Regions from separate parts of the Homo sapiens genome. Here all the other regions are linked to region 7. The links are contacts of gene promoters, found by promoter capture Hi-C in blood cells and fetal thymus (Javierre and others, 2016). All regions are on one chromosome and are shown on one strand. The core of a region is centred on a gene start or on the middle of the fragment in contact, and the rest is flanking DNA. Distances in the headings are between cores, read along the strand shown. Region 1 overlaps LOC107985449 (a long non-coding RNA gene). Region 2 has its middle 140 kb from the start of SSTR4. Region 3 overlaps LOC107985449 (a long non-coding RNA gene). Region 4 has its middle 93 kb from the start of LINC03125. Region 5 has its middle 92 kb from the start of NXT1. Region 6 has its middle 74 kb from the start of NXT1. Region 7 holds the start of CD93 (CD93 molecule).

Region 1 (2,700 bases), core at 79-2,578, 140 kb before region 7:
TGTCTGGAATTGGAAAAGGAGATGAGCACATTTCATGCATCATCCTGCAGAGAAGTTACAGTCTTTCACTCTCACCGACCCCATCAGGGGTACCTATTTCAACACACCAACACCAGTTGCAGATTTTATTAATCTTTCTGACCTTTACCAATCTTACTGCTCAAACTCCTTCCTGCTTTGATTTACATATATTTGATGCAAATTTGAACCAATTTTTTATTGGCTAGCCAGACAATTTTTTTTAGAAAAAGCACACAAATTATTATGATGAGGAAGGTACTTTGTAGGCATTAGATAGTTAATGTTAGTTAACAGCTGAAGAATCTTGAAAAATAAGCTCTACTAAAACAAATCCTAAACTTTTTCAAGATGCTAAATAATTCTGAGTCAGAAATAGTATTACTTAGAATCCCTACACGCACACACACACACACTTTTCTTATTCAGTGATCAGAGCTCTTGGTCCATTCTTCAATCGCCACTATTCTGCCTGCAAAAGACAGAGAATGGGAAGTGTTGGTGCCCCTGTTTGTAGAGATTGGAATTATAGTGTTGGCCATATCTGGGTTAGAAACCTGACTCCACCCCATACCCACTGACATCAAGTTTGTTTTCTTTCCTTTTTTCCTAAAAATGTTACCTATATTCTTAAAAGTAGGTATTTTGGGCTAAGTAAATATCATCATTTTCATTTTGCACATAGAAGTGGAAAAAAATTATATTACTTGCCCAAAGGAAAAAAAATATGTGTACATTTATGTAGCATCTGCATACTCATCATATCCATTTCCCAATGTGATTCCTTTCCTGGATAAGAATAGAGAGGGCTGGTGTTCCCATGTCTTGAATAAAGACATGGCAGCCCAAGCAATGCATGACTGGCCAGGATCTGACATCTAAATGGTAGATTAGGGCTGCAGCAGAGTCATCGTGACTCCTAGTCCGGCATTCTCCCCACCCTCTATGCTATAAGGAAAACAAAATGTAATGAAATAGCCCTTTTAACAACTGCAACTTGGAGCCAAGGCCACCAATGGCACAATCACTAAAAACCCCACAGACAACGCCCAGTCAAACCACAGTCTGGGAACAGACCCCAGACAGCCCCTTGTGGGCCCAGGCCCTCTCTGAGTTCTTCATCCCATGAAAGGGTTCTGTGAAATCTGACCATTTGTCATTCTCAAAGAACCAAAATTAAAGACTGTTCTCATGCCACGAGTTGATTGTTACCATGGGTAGGGATGAAACTATATTTCTCTTTCTCCCACTGTATTTCTTGACCATATAGTTGTGCAACAAATATAAATTAAATATTAGTTAAATACATTGTCTCCCCATGGTCTTGAGACTATGAGTCAGCCTTCCTTCTCAACAAAGACACAGTTGATGCCAGAAATTAGCAAGGCAATAATCTGTCTAACAGTAAATATTTGCCTAAAGGCCATGTTCTAAATATATGACCCAGTGGAATATATGAGAGGCACCTCCTTTCTTAAGGAGCTCATAACCCAAGCACTAAGAAGAATAACCACATGAAAAGGCCACCACCACCCACAGTGTGAACATCTGAGACCCTGGCGTCAGAGACAGCCTTTGACTCAGGAAGAAAAAGCTCTGTGCTGAGTGTCCATTCTCAGCTGGATTCTGCCTTGGTAATGCTACAAACATCCTCAGATAACAATTCCCACTGTCTCCTTGTAAGTATTATCATCTCCCCCGAGGAGATAGAAAACTAAGGTTCTGCGATAAAAGAAACTTGAACTGGGATCTGGACAATAGTTAAGTTTAATTTCACATCAGAGAGGGTGAGGAGGCAGAGATGTGACCTCAGGATGATGGCTTCTAGTCCTGGGTAGATTTGCTCTCATGTCTGAAACTGGAGTACTGGATAAGCCTCGCGGCATGGTCTTGCATCTGGGAAGTAGAGCTTTCTTCAATTCTTGCAACCGAGGAGGCACCTAGCAATGGTAGAAGTGCTTAGAGAGAGTATTTCCCCAACCACACCCCCTTGAGGGCTTTAAGCTACATCTCCCAGGACTCTACGTGGCCCCACACAGGGGTTCTCTGTCAAGAGAAATGGAAGTCGAGGAGAAGCTAGAACCTCAGTGTTCTCTTTTGTCGTGCAGGAATGAGGTCCCTGTACCATCTCAGCTGAAGCACAAGTGTGAGTTCATCCCATCACCTTTCTGTCCCTATTCAATGGATTAAATTTAGCAATTATGACATAAGGCTGAAAAAGACAACTCAAAACTCCAAGAATCATCCAATGTTGAGTGACGTAAGGGTGGGAGGAAGAGAAGTTAAAAATAACAGATGCATGAAAACACTCAGCTTAATAAAATAAATATATCCAAGTCCATGAGGACAAAGTGATTGAAATACTTAGCGTTCAGGATTGTCCAAAAGACCTTTCTGTGCTAATATGCAACTCTTTCACATCTACACTACCCAATACAGTAGCCCCCAGCCGTGTGTAGCTACAGAGAAACTGACTAGTGCCATTGAAAAACTCAGTTTTTCATTTGGAAATGTGCACAGAATGGACAAAATTCTAGACAAAGTATAACTTCACAAAATCAATTCATGAAGAATTTTTTTAAAAAAACTTGATTTCTGATTGTATTGTATTGAATTGTATTGAATTATTTTTTAAAATGTATTGTATTGTATTGAATTATAAGTTTTAAAAATATCAATAGC
Region 2 (2,700 bases), core at 56-2,555, 190 kb before region 7:
ATCTAGATGAGCTATGCCATACAACTGCATCTTTTATCTCCTCTCACTCCCCTCCACAGCTACAGGCATGAGAGAAGAGCAAGTGCTCTCCTGAAGCAAAGTCTTTAAAAAGCTCCCAACCCAAGAGTTGGGACACTGACAGGCTTACATTCACTTTTCCAGTTCACCCATGGTATGTGTTTCTGTTCTCACCTCAGTCTTGAGTTTTCCAGATCTGTCTTAAAGTAAAAGAGAAAATCCAAAGTCCCTGCATATCTCTTTACTGCATGCTGTAGAATTTTTCTTCCTAAGTTATTTCTGAGTCAACATTGATTCCTTCCCACTGAACTGAATTATGGTGTTTCAGGCCTAGTTAGTACTTTAATGATGTTGAAATCAAAGAGTAGAAGTTTTCACATGGGTATTCACATGAAATATTCCAGGACATGATTATTAGGTTCTTTGGGTTTGATAGCTGCCCTTGATTTACAGTCCCTTCTTGGCATCCACCATGCCTGAGAATAACAGATTAGCCACAGTCATACCTGTTTTTTTTCCAGAGCATATAAGAAAAATTGCTTCAATAAAAATTAAAAAAAAATCTTTGCCATCAACCACTCCCGTCCTCCCCCAAGCAAATGTTCATGCTAGTATCCACAGCATAGCGAGATGGGCATAGAGAAATGGCAGGGTCTCTAAGCTAATTCATTTCTATTCTTTCCTTCTCTCCCTTGCATGTTTCTAACTCTGCATTATTTTCCTCTAGGCCAAGGTAAAAGCCACCCTCTGCTTTTATAGTTGCAATGAGTTTAAAGACTTGAGCACAGCAGACTTGGAAAAGTGCTGTAGTAGGAAGCAGAAGTGCTGGGCTCTATGCTTCCAGGCCCTTGTACAGGAAAGGTGGTAGGACAATTGGTTAGAGCCCCCATACTGCCACTGAAGGGAACTTTTGTCTGTTAGGACAAGTCTTTTCTTTTTCTAAGAGGGAGAGAACATTATTTTCATTTCTGTTTTTCCCAGAAGCCAATCCTGAGACACAGATTACAGTATAAGTAGCTTATCTGGGAGGTGATGACTGGTAGGAAAGTGGAGAAGAGAGATCAGGTAGGAAAGCCAGTTAGTGGAGTGTTTGTTAACAAGCAGGGGACCGGTAGGTAGCTGAAGCTTGGTTCTGCTGGAGAAATCTGCTACCACACCTCAGAGCCATCCCACATGAAATGGGAGGGAGCTGGGGTCCTTACCCTCCACCCCACTAGCCACTGAGTTGAGGGCAGCTCTGGAGAGTCACTGTTTCCAGCACTTCCTGCCTGTCATGCTTGGGCAGAGAAAACTCTGGTGGCCAGAGGAAACAGGGAGGTAAGAAATCTAGGTGCTAATGGTTGGGAGGGAGACTTGGAGGCCTCCACTTCCTCACTAGTGAAACATCAATGCACAGATTGAGCTCACAGGCTACTGTGTGGTTGAAACAAGATGATACCTTCAAGAGCACAAGCTTGGTCTTACAGAGGAAGCAGACTGCTAGTGTCCTGTGAGTTGTTTGCTTACCTACTAAATAGCTAGATCCACCAATACATTCAAAAAAACCAAACTCATACAAACCACACTTTTAGACAATAGCACCATAAAAGCAGAAATCCATACCAAGAAGATCTCTCAAAACCATACAATTACATGGAAATTAAACAACCTGTTCCTGAATGACTTTTGGGTAACAATGAAATTAAGGCCAAAATCATGAAATTATTTGAAACTAATGAAAACAATGATAAAACATGCCAGAATCTCTGAGGCATAACTAAAGCAATGTTAAAAGGAAAGTTTATAGTGCTAAGTGCCCACATCAAAAAGTTAGAAAGATTTCAAATTAACAACCTAAAATCACACCTAAAGGAACTAGAGAAACAAGAGTAAACCAACCCTAAACCTAGCAGAAATAAAGAAATAATCAAAATCAGAGCTGAGCTGAACAAAATTGAGAGGTGAAAACTATACAAAAGATCAACAAAACCAAAAGTTGGTTCTATAAAAGAGTAAATAATATTGATAGACTGCAAGCTAGACTAATAAAGAAAAACAAAAAGAGAAGATTCTAATAAGTAATCATAAATGACAAAGGGGACATTGCCACCAACCCTATGGAAATAGAAAATCATCAGAGACTATTATGAACACTTCTATGCACACAAACTAAAAAACCCACCAGAATGGATAAATTCCTAGAAACATACAACCTCCCAAGATTGAATCAGAAAGACATTAAAACTATGAACATACCAACAGTGAGTTCCAAAATTGAATCAGTGATAAAAAGCCTACCAATCAGAAAAATCCCTAGACCAGATGGATTCATAACAAAATTCTACCAGAAGCATAAATAAGAGTTGGTATCAATTCTATTGAAGCTATTCCAAAAAAATTGAGAAGTAGAGACTACTCCCTAACTTATTCTATGGGGCCAGTATCATTCTGATATCAAAACCTGGCAGAGACACAATGAAAAAAGAAAACTTCAGGCCAATATCCCTGATAAAAATAGATGCAAAAATCCTCAACAAAATATTAGTAAACTGAATCCAGCACACATCAAAAAGCTAAACCCCCACAATCAAGTAGGCTTTATTCATGGAATGCAAGGTTGGTTCAACATATGCAAGTCAACAAATGTGATTCATCACATAAACAGAACTAAAAACAAAAACCACCTGATCATTTCAATAGATG
Region 3 (2,700 bases), core at 179-2,678, 160 kb before region 7:
ATTCAGTATTTCTAATTGATGTGAACAAGTGGGAGTAATTCTGTGGTGGAGCTGGTCAGGGTCTGAGACACAGCTGGTTTCCCTGGAACACATTACCAGCCCACCCTTGCCGTGCCAAGCCCTCCTTCCCAGACTGCAGCTGCCGTGAGTCTCTCATCAGGCAAGTGAGCTGTTTCATGAGTAGCTGACTCCCAAAAGTTGGCTGGCTGGGGCAGCTTGGGTGCTGATTTCAGTTCAGTATAACATGTCAAATGTTAATAATTAATGCTTTGCATAGTAATTGTCAAGTAGGAATAGTCAAAAAGAGAAACTTGTTGAAGAAGAGGATAAAAGGGAGCAGGAGGTAGGAAGCAGGGAGGATAAAAGAGCGTAGGTAAGAGTTGATAATAAACCGTGTCCAGGTGGAAATTCAGCAACAAAAACTGTATGAGGAGAAATGACCTCTTTGAAGGGTGTTGAATCATGAACACAAGGATGATTCAGCAATGAACTGGTAGCAGAGATCTCCAGGAAGGATACAGTTTAGGCTCATGGCTCCAGCAACCCAGACTCTAAGGAGAACCCAACAGGCCCACCACAGAAACTTGAGTTACCTGTGGCCCCAGCAGGAAAGCAGCAAGCAGTGGGAGCCAGAGATGTCATGAAATCACTTGCCTAAGTCTGCAAAAGAGTCCCCCAGGACAGAGAGGAAATTTGACCCCCCTCCTATTTCCAAGACATAGGCACGTTCACTGCCCCTGGGAGAGAAGGCGGAAGAAGAATCCCATGTCCTCCACTGTTCTGTCTTCTGTCTGTGGTCTTAGCTCTCCCCAGTTTCTGAAGTGGTGAAAATTTTCTCAAAACTTTCCCTCTATTTCTACCCCCAAATTTTTAAAGATTTTTCTGTATTCAGCCATGTGCCAAGTACATGACACATCTTCTGTTCCTGCACAGTCTGGTGAGGAGCATCTTCTGTTATCCCCACTTTATGGATGCAGGGTCTGTGGTCAGTGAGGGCAGCTGCTTGTCCTCACTGACAGTGAGTACTGGAGAGGGACTTGAATCCCCACCCATCTCTGTTCCAACACCAGCACATTCAAGAATCACATAGAACTCCACCCTCTCCCTCTCTCTTCCCCTCTCCTTTTCCTTTGTGTCTACTTAACTTGTATTATTGCCATTTGCTTCTTTTCCCCTCAGTGAAGTGTGAGACTGGTCAGTGTTTTTTTTTTTTTTTCTTTTCCCCCTGTTCGTTCCCAGGAAACAGTGAAGTTTATATAAGTCTCAATCAAAGCAGCCTTCCATCACCACGTTCCATCATCTGCCCAAACTTCTGCTTCCTCTTGACATTTAGGTCTGGGGTGGAGGGCAAAGGCTGTCACCAGAGAAAAGCCAGCTGCTCACAGCCACAATGTCTCACATGCTGGTCTGTCCTCAGATAGCCTGCCATGTCTCAGGGTCTGGTTCTCAACCTCAAAAGTTTCCAAAGATGACAACCTTCTCGCAGAGACAGGGCTCACTAGTTTTTTTTTTTTTTTCTCAATTCTGTAATTCAAAAATTGTTTATGTTTCATTTGATAACTTAATTTCTAGAGTTTTGAAGACACCTTGCTGCCATCTTTGTCTGCCTTTCTGGCTGAACAGAAGGCAACTGCAAGAGGAATACCTCAGACCAGGAAATTGAGTCCAGAGCCTCACATCAGCACTGACGTGAGGCTGACTAATGAGTACTCATCACGAACTTCAAGAGCATGAGAGAAAGACTGCGGACCCATTACAGCTTGCAGGGGACTACTTGCTCTCCACTCCAGTCTTAAATGTCACTAGAGGTGTCGAGTGGGTGGGGGCAGTGGCCTCCAGGGCCTTCATCCCTAGACATTCTGATGGCTCACTAATGCCCTCTAGAAAGGCAATGTTGGATTCAACTCTGAACTCTGAAAATCTCTAGACAAAGAAGATGGTTATCTTTTGAAATCTGACATACCAGAAGATAAGGTTGAAGAGCCCATGGCAGTGCCTTAATTTCCTATTTTTCCTCAAATGTTTTCAGTTGAGCAAAACACATTTTATAAAGCCATTTCTCCTCTAAAAATGTTAAACCCACATTTCAAAATAAGAGAAATCATCTCCTTATGAATCTGATTCATTCACACTTTTATGGGAAGTTTGGCAAACAGAAAATTGGTGGTTCCTTTGTTCCAGATTGTCTACCCAAAAAAGAGGGACAGGGTCCAGAGGACACTAGACTCCTCTCCTGACTCAACACCTTCCATTGGTAAGGCTCTTGCCTCTTTCTATGACCAATAAAGCACAGATAATGACTAGAAAACAGAGGCCATGAGTAGGATGGGCCACTGAACTGGTGCTAAGCAAGTCCTCTTGCTCACCTACTCTTAAAGGTCATTAAAGACTGAGCTTCAAGCCTTCCTTGCCTTGCCTTGCCTCCCACCATGATCCTGGTTGAGATACATTAACTTTTCTTCTCTGATTATCTCAGCAGCCAAATACCTGGTCTCACTGAGTCTAAGTTTGCCCTTCTTTAATCTATCCTCTTCTCACTCTGCCTTTGTTTCTGAATGATATTGTTAGTCACGTTATGGCTCTGCTCAGGGATGACTTTTCACCTCTCGATCACCTGCAAACCATACAAACTGCATTTTCTTACACTATTACTTCAAATGTCTCCTTCCACATATTTCCAGGACAACCACAGCTCACCTC
Region 4 (2,700 bases), core at 183-2,682, 150 kb after region 7:
ACCATTATGTAATGCCCTTCTTTGTCTTTTTTTATTTTTGTTGGTTTAAAGTCTGTTTTGACAGAGACTAGGATTGCAACCCTGCTTTTTTTTCATTTTGCCTCTTAATCCGCATGCCTGAGCCCACTCGTCCAGTTCCTAAGATCTTATTAGGAGGCTGCCAATCACCAGTTACAGGTGTTTTTATCTATTGGGAAACTGCCTTTCCCTAGCACTGGATGCGACCAATTATTATTTTAGAGAGGGAGTGTTACAACCACCTGACCATCACCTGATGGTCACCTGGCATTCCTGGTGGGGAAGTGGACGTCCTCTCCTGCCCTGTTTGTGTTTGACTAGCTATCCACTATAACAATATCATATGTTCAATTCTTTTTTTTTTTTTTTTGAGACAGAGTCTCACTTTGTCACCCAGGCTGGAGTGCAATGGCATGATCTCAACTCACTGCAACCTCCTCCTCCCAGGTTCAAGTGATTCTCCCACCTCAGCTGCCCCAAGAGCTGGGATTACAGGCACCTGCCATCATGCCCAGCTAATTTTTGTATTTTTATAGAGATGGGGTTTCACCATGTTGGCCAAGCTGGTCTTGAACTCCTGACCTCAGCTCATCCACCTGCCTTGGCCTCCCAAAGGTTGGGATTATAGGTGTGAGCCACCACACCCTGCCAAATGTTCAATTCTTAAGAAAGAAAAATCTAACAAATCCTACACTAACAAGTGTTGAAAGTGTGCTAGGAAATTGTGAATTCGTATACACTGCTGATGAGACATCTTTGAAGAGCTAGCTGGTAATATCAGATAATATTAAAAATTGAGCTTGTCCCATGACTCAGCAAACTTTATTGTAGAAAATCTAGGTATCAATCTCTGAAATGCATGCACAATAGGAAATATACATGGTGTGGTTTTTTTTAAAGCACCATTTGCAACAAGTAAAAACTGAAATGACCTAAATATCCACCAATAGCAAAATAGATAAAGTATGACATATTCATATACTGGAATGCTACACATTGATTAAAATAAACATGCTATTCATGCATTGTCAACAAGAATAAATCTTAAAAAACAATTGGTGTTTGGGGAAAGGGGAATAGAGAGTTGTTGTTTGATGGGTGTAGAGTTTCAGTTTGGAAAGAAAGAAGGTTCTGGAAGTGGATGGTGGTGATAGTTCGAACGTACTTAATGCCACTGAACTGTACAGTTTAAAATGTCTAAAATGGACCCATGTTGTTCAAGGATCAACTGTACTTCAATCAATCAATAGAAGTGAGCATTGACTTTGCTTTTGCCTTTAAAAAATCCTTTAGGAAAACAACACATCTTATATTTTTCTTTGCTGGGGGGGCTTCCCTGTGTCACTCAGGCTGGAGTGCAGTGGCGCTATCTCAGTTCACTGCAACATCCACCTCCTGGGCTTGAGAGATCCCCCCACCTCAGCCTCCTGAGTAGCTGGGACTATAGACATGAACCATCATGGCTGGCTAATTTTTTAATTTTTTGTAGAGATGTTTTTGTAGAGTTTTTTTGTAGAGACCAGCCATTTGCTCAGGCTGGTCTTGAATTCCTGGGCTCAAGTGATCTGCCTGCCTCGGGCTCTCAAAATGCTGGGATTATAGACTTGAGCCACCATGTCCGGCCAACAAGCATCTTTTGAAGTACAAATTATTGAAGGGTTTACAGCACTTGCTCACTCATGTACGTGAGGTCCCTGCACTGGTTCTTTCCATCAACCAGATGGATCCACTGGTGGGAGGAAGTGGATGATAGAAGTGGGGTCCATGAGGCACTGCTCAGAGGACTGGCAGGACAGTAGGCTGACAGGACATCTAAGGGAAGCAGAAGGTCTGAGGGAGGAAGAGGAGAGGCAGAGCCCAGGCAACCTGGGCCCCCTGCCTGGCCAGTTCTGGGATGCTGCCCTCAGCAGAGCTGGGGGAGAACTGTCACACTTTCACTGCCCTTGCCACCCGGCTCATATCACCAGGCACCATGCCACTGCAGGGACACTCCTCAATTCACCAACCAGCAAAGGACCCCTGGAATTTTTCTTGACTCTGAGGCTTTAGTGAAAGTAGTGAGGAAAACATCTAAAAATAAAATCGTGATGAATTCAAGATGTATGTGGCATTATGCTTGTCAGAAAAAGCTCAATGACTTAAGTTTTGTCCCCATCATTCCTTAGGAGCCACCGGGTAAACATTTGCACCTGGCTGGAGAGGGCAGAGAGGAGCCTTGGTTCCCATCAGGCCACCAGCCCTAGGATTTGCCAGCATCATTCTGTGGTGCCTACTCACACACACACGTGCTCTCTCCCCAGCCTCTCCTCTTCAGCACCCTCCCTCCCCAGTGTCCATACATTTTCCTACATCTGGTTGTGGACGGAAATGTCTGAGGAATCACAGAAGGGCCCTGATAGTGAAATAGACACAGGGGCCAGCCTGCACCCTTCTTGACCCTTGGGCTTGACCTAATATCTTTGCAGGGTAGTTCACAGTCTGAACCAGGTGAGCAAACTTCTTGTGTGAAGAGCAGACAGCAAACATTTCAGGCTGTGGGGGCCACCCAGTCTCTGCTGCAACTGGTTAACTTGCTGCTGTAGCTTCAAAGTAGCCATAGGCAATATATAAACAAATTGTGTCACTGTGTTCCAGTAAAACTTTATTATACACACTGAACTTTGAATTTCATATAATTTTGGG
Region 5 (2,700 bases), core at 37-2,536, 170 kb after region 7:
TCCCACTTCCCCCAGACCCTGCCCTCCATCCTGGCTGGAGCCCAAGGGGCCCCACGCCCACCCAGGAGGAAGAGGCTCCGCTTCCACACCGGGTTCCAAGAGACGCACCCCCACCTCAAGGCAAGTGTACCAGTGCCAGGCCAGAGAGAAGCTGGCCACTTTTCTCTCCCACAGTAAAAGTGCTATGTAAGCAGAAACCCACCCAGCTACTTAAGCGCACAGACCTGTCTATTCGGGCAGCGATTCCTCAGCTCCACACCCAGCATACTGAAGAAGTTGGGAGTTGCAGGTGAAAAAAATCACTCAGGGCTTCCAGGTTTCTACAACTGCTTAGCAGACACCTTACTCATCTGAGCCCTCACAGAGCACTGTGACCACAAATAGGCCAGCACTTTCATTTCCAATCTACAAATAAAAAATATCAGGCGCAGAGCTCTTTCTCAAGGAGGCACAGCTAATGTCAGAGCCCAGGCTCTGCCCCAGGCTCAGGGCCTTCAATAATCCTGTGCTACCTAAGGAGCAGTTTTTATCCTGTGTGGTTTGTCTGGAAAGGAACACAGCCCCCATCCCAGAAGGGCGTGCCTTCATGCTCACACCACAGGGTCACCTCATAGGCTGCCATCCCTTTTCTCCTCTGTCAGTATATACATGTTTCCACCTGAGGATCAAGAGAAGTGTGGCCCAGTAGCCGGGGAATTGAAGCAAAAAGACCTAGATGTGAATCTGGTCTCTGCTGCCCTGGGCAAGTGTGCTACAGTGTTCCAATCACAGCTCATTCAAAATCACGAGAGGATAATCACCCCTGCCTGGCATCGCAGTGCAGAGGCATAAAAGCAGCATTTATAAAGCCCGATGCCATACCTCCCAGAGTGAGCCTTATCAACAGCAGCCATCATTATGCCATTAAACACTCAAAAGGCTTTCTTTAGAGGAGAAAGGATTGCATCATTGATTAGAGGTTGGCCTGAATTTGTGCAAATGTTGTTGGTGAGAAAGCTTGGTGCCTGATGACTGATAAACCCAGAATGCAATATTGCTAGGATTTTTTTATAGTCAGCCTCCTCTTTCCAATAACCCCCTGCTCACTCCTAAGCCACTTAGGCTGAGCAAGAGGGAATTAACCTGGGCGAGTCCAGAGCGGAAGCCTGAATGGCCCATTCATCTTTCAGTAGCTGACAATGGGTTGCATATTACTTTATAAGCTCTACAGTTTAGTGTCAATGAAGCCTCGGTGTTTTTAAAGCTCCTGTTATGCCATCATTACTTCAGATATGTGGAAAATTCACTTGCAAGCATAACATTTTTCACAGTTTGTGATTTGTATCAGGAAGTGACTCAACTTCCTCTAGGCTCCAAGGCAGTCATAGCTGGGAAGGGGAAAACTCTGTCTGCCAAGACCAAGGGAACCAACCAGCTGCATCATAAACCACACCATTGTGGAATATATCCTGCTAATCTGGCTAAAGATGACTGCAGGACAAAATTTCCAGGGTGAGAGTGCCCTTCAAGAGCCCAGCACATTGGGAGAAAATAGACTAAGATCAAAAATCCCTATGCATTCTAGAGCAAAACCATAAAAGCTTATACCAAAGATCAAGGGTTGCAAGCCATCTGACTTCTCTGCAGCCACACTGGAAGCTACAAGACATAAATCAAAGACATAAGACTTTCTCTTAGCTGCGTGTGGTGGCAGGTGCCTGTAATCCCACCTACTCAGAAGGCTGAGGCATGAGACTCGCTTGAACCAGGGAGGTGGAGGCTCCCCAGCCCATTGCCCAGGCTGGAGTGCAGTGAGCCGAGATCACTCCACTGCACTCCAGCCTGGGTGATAGAGTGGGACTCTATCTTAAAACAAAAAAACAAACAAACAAACAAAAACTTTCTCAATTGTGAAAGTAAATAATTTGCAACCTAGAATTCTATACCTGGTTGTCTTACTCCATTCAGGCTACCATAACATAATGCCTTAGATTGGGTAATTTATAAACAACTGAAATTAATTTCTCACAGTCCTGGAGGCTGTAAAGTCCAAGATCAAGGTGTCAGCAGATTCAGTGTCTGACGAGTGCTCAGTCTCTACTTCATAGACAGCCAGCCCCTCCCTGTCTATGCAAATGGTGGAAGGGACAGATAAGCTCCCTGGGGTACTAATCCCATTTATGAAGGTTGAGCCCTCATGACCTCATCACCCCCCAAAAACCCCACCTCTTAATACTATTGCACTGGGGATTTGGTTCCAACATAAGAATTTTGGGGGGACAAACAACATTCAGATCATAGCACCAGCCAGTCAATTAAGTAGGAAGGTAGACTGTAGACATTTTCAAATATGTGAGATCTCAGAAATGTTCCTTCACTTCTCTCTCTGAAGAAGCTACTGGAGTTTGTACTCCATCAAATTAAGAGAATGAATCAAAGAATGTGGTGAGACAGAATCCAAGAAGCAGAAAATCCAGCACAGGAGAGGAGAGGAGACTCTCTGGAGGAACTCCAAGTGAAGATGCCAGGATGGCAGTGATGCACCAGATCTAGACCTCAGTCCAGACTGGAGGAGTCAGGGGCTCTAGGAGAGACTTCTTCAAGAAAAAGAAATTAAGAGTATCTGGTGTGGATATCTTAAGTAACTGGAGGAGAGTTTGAGAATAAATTAGTGATTTGTATTTGAAAAGTACAAAAACACAATCATGAACCCCAGGAAAA
Region 6 (2,700 bases), core at 93-2,592, 190 kb after region 7:
AACACATACACGGAATTAACCACTATCATCCCCTCTTTACAGACTAGGAGGCTGAGGCTTAGCAGGTTAAATTTCTTACCAGGGTCACATAACCAGCGAATGGAAGAGCTGAAGTGAGAATGTGGGTCTCTGCGGCTCTTTCCACATGGCCCATTGTGCCTTTGGATAATTTAATTCATGACAGCACTTCATTTTCTAAACAAATTCCTGATGAATGGGAAAGAGGAGGTTTTGAAGGGAAAGGAAGAATATTAGAAATATGAGGAACAAAAACCTTAGAACACAGAGAAATATCTCAAGGAGGAGAATGAGTAGACATAGCTGGGGTGTGTCTATGGGACAAAGAACAACTTGCTCATTGAGAGGACTTGGGAGGTTGAGAGAGAGAAAACTCACCAGGCCAACTCTGCTGTTGTCCTGATTTTCTCGAGTTCCCACTGGAAACATCAGTAATACCTGCTGATTTATTTAGGTGCTTATATAAAGTTTCACAAGTTTAAAGTAGTGCTCAGCTGGTTATGTATTCCATCCAACCATCCAGTGAGTCTTAGAAAGTGGATTAGTCGGGGTCTCCAGAGAGACAGAACCTGTAGGATGTACAGGCATATCTAATTTTATTGTTCTTGCTTTATTATGCTTTGCAGGCATTGCATTCTGTACAAACTGAAGTGTTATGGCAACCCTGTGTTGAGCAAGTCTATGGGCGCCATTTTTCCAACAGCATGTGTTCACTTCATGTCTCGATGTTACATTTTGGTAATTCTTGTAATATTTAAAGCTTTTTTGTCATTATTATATCTGTTACAGTTGTCTGTGGTCAGTGATCTTTGATATTACTATTGTAATTGTTTTGGGGCACCACAAACTGCACCCATATAAGACAGTAAATTTAATCAATAAATATTGTGTATGTTTGTTCCATCATCCAGCTGTTCCCGCATCTCTCTGTCTCACCTTGGGCCTCTCTATTCCCTGAAGCATAACACTATTAAAATTAAGACAACTAGTAATCCTACGGTGAACCTCTAAGTGTTCAAGTGAAAGGAAGAGTCACACATTTCTCACTTTAAATCAAAAGCTAGAAACCATTAAGCTTAGAAGATAGGCTTCTTGTGCCAAACAGTTATTCGAGTTGTGAATGCAAAGGAAAGGTTCTTGAAGAAAATTAAAAGTGCTACTCCAGTGAACACATGAATAATAAGAAAGTGAAACATCCTTACTGCTGAATTTGAGAAAGTTTTAGTGGTGGAGTTAGAAGATCCAACTAGCCACAACATTCCCTTAAGCCAAAGCCTAATCCAGAGCAAGGCCCTCTGCTCTAATTCAGTGAAGGTTGAGAGAGGTAAGGCAGCTGAAGAAGAAAAGTTTGAAGCTAGCAGAGATTGGTTTATGAAGTTTAAGGAAAGAAGCCACCTGTAAAAGCCATAATGTAAAAGCACAAGAAACTGCAGCAAGTTATCAAGATCTAGCTAAGATAATTAATGAAGGTGGCTAAACTAAACAGATTTTCATAGATGAAACAGCCTTCTATCGCAAGAAGATGCCAGCTAGAACTTTCATAGCTAGAGAGGAGAAGTCAATGCCTGGCTTCAAAGCTTCAAAGGACAAGCTGACTTTTTTTAGGGGCTAATGCAGCTGGTGACTTTAAATTAAAGCCAATGCTCATCTTCCATTCCCAAAGTCCTAGGGCCCTTAAGAATTATGCTAAATCTACTCTGCCTGTGCTCTATAATTGGAACAACAAAGCCTAGGTAACAGCTCATCTGTTTACAGCATGGTTTCCTGAATATTTGAAGCCCACTGTTGAGAAATACTGCACACACACACACACACACACACACACAAGATTTATTTCAAAATATTACTGTTCATTGACAATGCAGCTGGTCATCCAAAAGCTCTAATAGAGATGTTCAAGATTAATGTTGTTTTCACACCTCCTAACACAATATCTGTTCTTCAGCCCATGGATCAAGAAGTAATTTCAACTTTCAAGTCTTAATATTTAGGAACTACATTTTACAAGGCTATATCTGCCATAGATAGTGTTGGTCTTATGGAACTGGGCAAAGTAAATTGAAAACCTGTAAAGGATTCATTATTCTAGATGCCATTAAGAACATTCATGCAGCAAGTTATCAAGGGAGATTCATGGAAGAAGTTCAGAATATCAACATTCACAGGAGGTTGAAAGTTGATTCCAAGCCTCATGTATGACTTTGAGGGATGCAGGACTTCAGTGGAGGAAGTAACTGCAGATGTGTGGAAATAACAGCAACAACAACAAGCTAGAATTAGAAGCCGAGCCTGAAGACGTAACTGAATTGCTGCAATCTCATGATAAAATTTAAACAGCTACAGAGTTGCTTCTTATGAATGAGCAAAAAAAAAAAATAGTTTCTTGAGATGAAATGTATTCCTGGTGAAGATGCCATTGAAGATTGTTGAAATGACAGCAAAGCATTTAGAATATTACATGAACTTAGTTGATAAAGCAGTGACAGGGTTTGGAAGGATTGACTCCAAATTTGTTTTTTTGTTTTTGTGTTTTAATCTTGTATCATAGTGGGTTTTTTTTAATTTTGGTAATAATATTAAACTTAGAGTAAATTGCAAGAATAGTACAAACAACATTCATTCACCTTTTGTGCAAATTCACTATCGTTAACATTTTACCTCATTTGCTTAATCATTTATGGG
Region 7 (2,700 bases), core at 123-2,622:
CCCTCCTCACAGGAGCAGTGAAATGAGCCATCTGTGTTGGTGCAGCCCTGGGCGCAAGGCGAGCGACCCAGAGCACACTCATCCACATCCTGACAGGCCCCCTCTCCAGGACCGCCCGGCTCATAGCCAACCCAGCATTCGCAGCGGAAGCCCCCAGGGGTGTTGACACACTCCTGGGCACAGGGGGAGTCCTGGCATTCATCCACGTCCACACAGTCCAGCTGACTCGAGTCCAGCTGGTACCCTTGGGGGCAGCGGCACGTGTAGTTTTTCCCATGGGGTCCCAGGACGCACGTGGCCCCCCCACGACATGGGCTGGAGCTGCAAGGGTTTCGAGAGGCACAGGTCACCAGGTCATCCAGCAGCCGGAATCCTGGTCGGCAGCCGCAGAGGAAGGAGCCATCCCCCCCTTCAAAGCAGTCCTGGTGGCAGCCCCCATTGTTGAAGTTGCAGCCATACTTGGGGCTGACACAGAGGGGGCCCGAGCTGCCCCAGTCGAACACATCGGGGGCCTTCTCCTTGCACAGGAAATAATGACTCTGAGTCTCGTCCTTGTCACCTTCCCCACAGGCTACATTGGCCGCAGAGGCAAAGGGCACAGCCTCCAAGGAGGAACTGGTGGTCTGGAAGGGGGTGGTGTAGGTCACCTGACCTGGGCCCCCCAGGGCCAGAGGCCGGCACATGCCTTTGAAGCTGAACTTGCACACGAAGCCCTCAATGTTACTTCCGGGGGAGCCTGGGCTCCCACAGGGGCCCTCAGACCACTTGGGGAGGCGGCTGGGAAGGAGCGGCTGGGACAGGTCCAGCAGCAGAGACACACAGCGCTTGGAGATGCACGAGTTCCGGAGCTCCTTGTGCCAGTTAGAGTAAGGCGTGTCCTCCCCCCCGCCCACCCAGCTGAAGCCCTTCAGCGGCAGACTAGGGTCCAGGCACTTGCCCTTCTCTCGCTGGAGCCCAATCCAGAACTTGCTCATCCTCGCCGTCAGGGCTGCCTCCCGCCTCAGGAGCTGGGCCAGTACTCGCTGGACGTGCTGGGCCTCCTCCTTGCTCTTCACAGTGGCCAGGTTGCCCCCGTTCTGGTTGCAGTGGTTCTGGGCCTCGGCAGCGCTCAGCTTGCCCGAGTGGGCCGTGTAGCAGGCGGTCCCCACGCAGACCACCGCCTCCGTGTCAGCTCCCGTCCCCGCCCCGGGCTGGGTCAGGAGCAGCAGCAGCAGCAGCAGCAGGCCCATGGAGGTGGCCATCCCGGTCTCTGTGTGGCCCTCTGCGGGAGGCGAGAAGCCCAGCGGCGACAGGAGCTTCTATCTCGGCTCCCAGCTGGGCCCCAAGGGGAGCTGAGGGGTGAGCTGCAGCCACTCCGGCGCAGAGAAGGACACAAAGGCTGAGGGCTTTCCACGTCCCCCTGACCCAAGGCGCATCCTGTACTGTTGTACTTCTTATTTCTCACCGGATGTTGGGGCTTCCTGCAATGAATAGTTCTCTGACTCCTGCTGCCTTCATCACGGTGCTGTTGTTCATAAAAGGAGTCAGGCAGCTCTGCCGGGTCCCTGGCTCAGCACTGTGGAAACAGCGACGGGGGGAAGACGTTACAGCCCCGAGATACTGCCGGCTTGATTTTGGCTCCATTCTCTTTCTCATGGCATGAGGAGCCTCGGAGGCATGCCATGGAGTGAGCAGGGGCTTTGGGGGCTAGGAACTCGAGGAAGCTCCCTTAGTAACCCATAATAAAATTCCACTTTGGTTTGCAAACCACCAAAAGAGAAAAAAAAAATTCTGAGACTTAAGACACAAGGCCATGGATGGTTATAATTTTCAGCCTTTTTTAGAAGCAAACTGGACTTTCCTTTTGCCTAGCTCATGTTCTCTGTTGACTTTGGGAGCCTTTTTTCTTTTATCCTCCCATCGTGAACCTTAAATAGACAGGCATTTTTTAAATAGGATACGGGTCGTGGGAATGTCTGGGTTTTCAACATAATGCCAAGCTCCTCGATAATGTTAATCCAAATTGGGTGAAATTTGGCAGTTCTGGGGGTTTCATAGTGGAAATATTGCATTGTGAGGTGTCAGGGTCACAAAAAGCATCAGAAAGAAAATGAAAATGTGTCCGGCCTCGTGGCGCAGGGCTTGCAGGCTCACTTCCCCCGGCTCAGGATTCCTAGCAAGGGCCGGAAATCTGGGCAGGGAGCGGGAATCGAAGCCCGGGCAGGCCCTCCCGCGACACCGCGACTCGGCAAAAGCCAGGGACTCACAGTGTGCTTTTCCTGCAGCCACAGACCTTTGCTCATTGGTTGGGATCCCCCAGGAGGGGACCCTGAGACAGGATTTGGGGAGACTAGTTTATGTGGGAGGGGAAGTGAAACAGACAAGGAGGAAGCCAACCCATGATGACTTGCTGAGAAGGTGACCCTGGGCTGCTGGAGCCAGTGCCAGGAAACTCTGGGGGCCTGAGGGGACCACACCTCAGCACCATCTCAGCTGAGGGAGAGGCTCCACTGCTCTCCAAGTCCCCTGTCATTGGTAGCAGGCTGTATCTCTCACTTTGAGAGACTGACTATAAATTCTAGCCCTGCCCAGTGACCAGGGGTCTCTCTCACATAAAACTTGTTTCTATGGACAGACACCCTTGTGGCTCTCGTCTGACCCATGTCCAGTTTATTCCTATCAAGACAGCCACTTCCTAAGAGATCCCTGATGGGAGGAGAG

Evidence for each region. The method cuts DNA at HindIII sites, captures the fragments that hold promoters and counts their contacts. A CHiCAGO score of 5 or more calls a contact.
Region 1: a fragment that was not itself captured here is called in contact with the fragment with the promoter of CD93 in region 7 in 1 of 17 cell types (neutrophils); the score reaches 7.9 in neutrophils.
Region 2: a contact is called between a fragment that was not itself captured here and the fragment with the promoter of CD93 in region 7, in 1 of 17 cell types (neutrophils). The highest score is 6.7, in neutrophils.
Region 3: a contact is called between a fragment that was not itself captured here and the fragment with the promoter of CD93 in region 7, in 2 of 17 cell types (neutrophils and monocytes). The highest score is 7.5, in neutrophils.
Region 4: a contact is called between a fragment that was not itself captured here and the fragment with the promoter of CD93 in region 7, in 6 of 17 cell types (neutrophils, monocytes, M0 macrophages and 3 more). The highest score is 20.8, in neutrophils.
Region 5: a contact is called between a fragment that was not itself captured here and the fragment with the promoter of CD93 in region 7, in 6 of 17 cell types (monocytes, endothelial precursors, M1 macrophages and 3 more). The highest score is 20.2, in monocytes.
Region 6: a fragment that was not itself captured here is called in contact with the fragment with the promoter of CD93 in region 7 in 1 of 17 cell types (monocytes); the score reaches 9.6 in monocytes.

What each region holds. Positions count from the first base shown.
Region 1 is chr20:22,948,489-22,951,188 of GRCh38, forward strand. The region is part of intron 1 of LOC107985449 (a long non-coding RNA gene); the gene reads left to right. Among named protein-coding and RNA genes, the nearest start is that of SSTR4, 85 kb to the right of the region's middle. The HindIII fragment of the contact is 6,397 bases long and covers 1-2,700 here.
Region 2 is chr20:22,898,748-22,901,447 of GRCh38, forward strand. No RefSeq gene overlaps it. Among named protein-coding and RNA genes, the nearest start is that of SSTR4, 140 kb to the right of the region's middle. The HindIII fragment of the contact is 328 bases long and covers 1,142-1,469 here.
Region 3 is chr20:22,924,088-22,926,787 of GRCh38, forward strand. All of the region lies in intron 1 of LOC107985449 (a long non-coding RNA gene), which reads left to right. Among named protein-coding and RNA genes, the nearest start is that of SSTR4, 110 kb to the right of the region's middle. The HindIII fragment of the contact is 9,183 bases long and covers 1-2,700 here.
Region 4 is chr20:23,239,878-23,242,577 of GRCh38, forward strand. No RefSeq gene overlaps it. Among named protein-coding and RNA genes, the nearest start is that of LINC03125, 93 kb to the left of the region's middle. The HindIII fragment of the contact is 8,047 bases long and covers 1-2,700 here.
Region 5 is chr20:23,257,274-23,259,973 of GRCh38, forward strand. No RefSeq gene overlaps it. Among named protein-coding and RNA genes, the nearest start is that of NXT1, 92 kb to the right of the region's middle. The HindIII fragment of the contact is 584 bases long and covers 995-1,578 here.
Region 6 is chr20:23,275,234-23,277,933 of GRCh38, forward strand. No RefSeq gene overlaps it. Among named protein-coding and RNA genes, the nearest start is that of NXT1, 74 kb to the right of the region's middle. The HindIII fragment of the contact is 502 bases long and covers 1,092-1,593 here.
Region 7 is chr20:23,084,952-23,087,651 of GRCh38, forward strand. CD93 (CD93 molecule) reads right to left here and starts at 1,373. Exons shown (of 2, transcript NM_012072.4): 1 at 1-1,373. The coding sequence starts at 1,241. RefSeq lists an enhancer at 1,357-1,536. The HindIII fragment of the contact is 6,182 bases long and covers 1-2,700 here.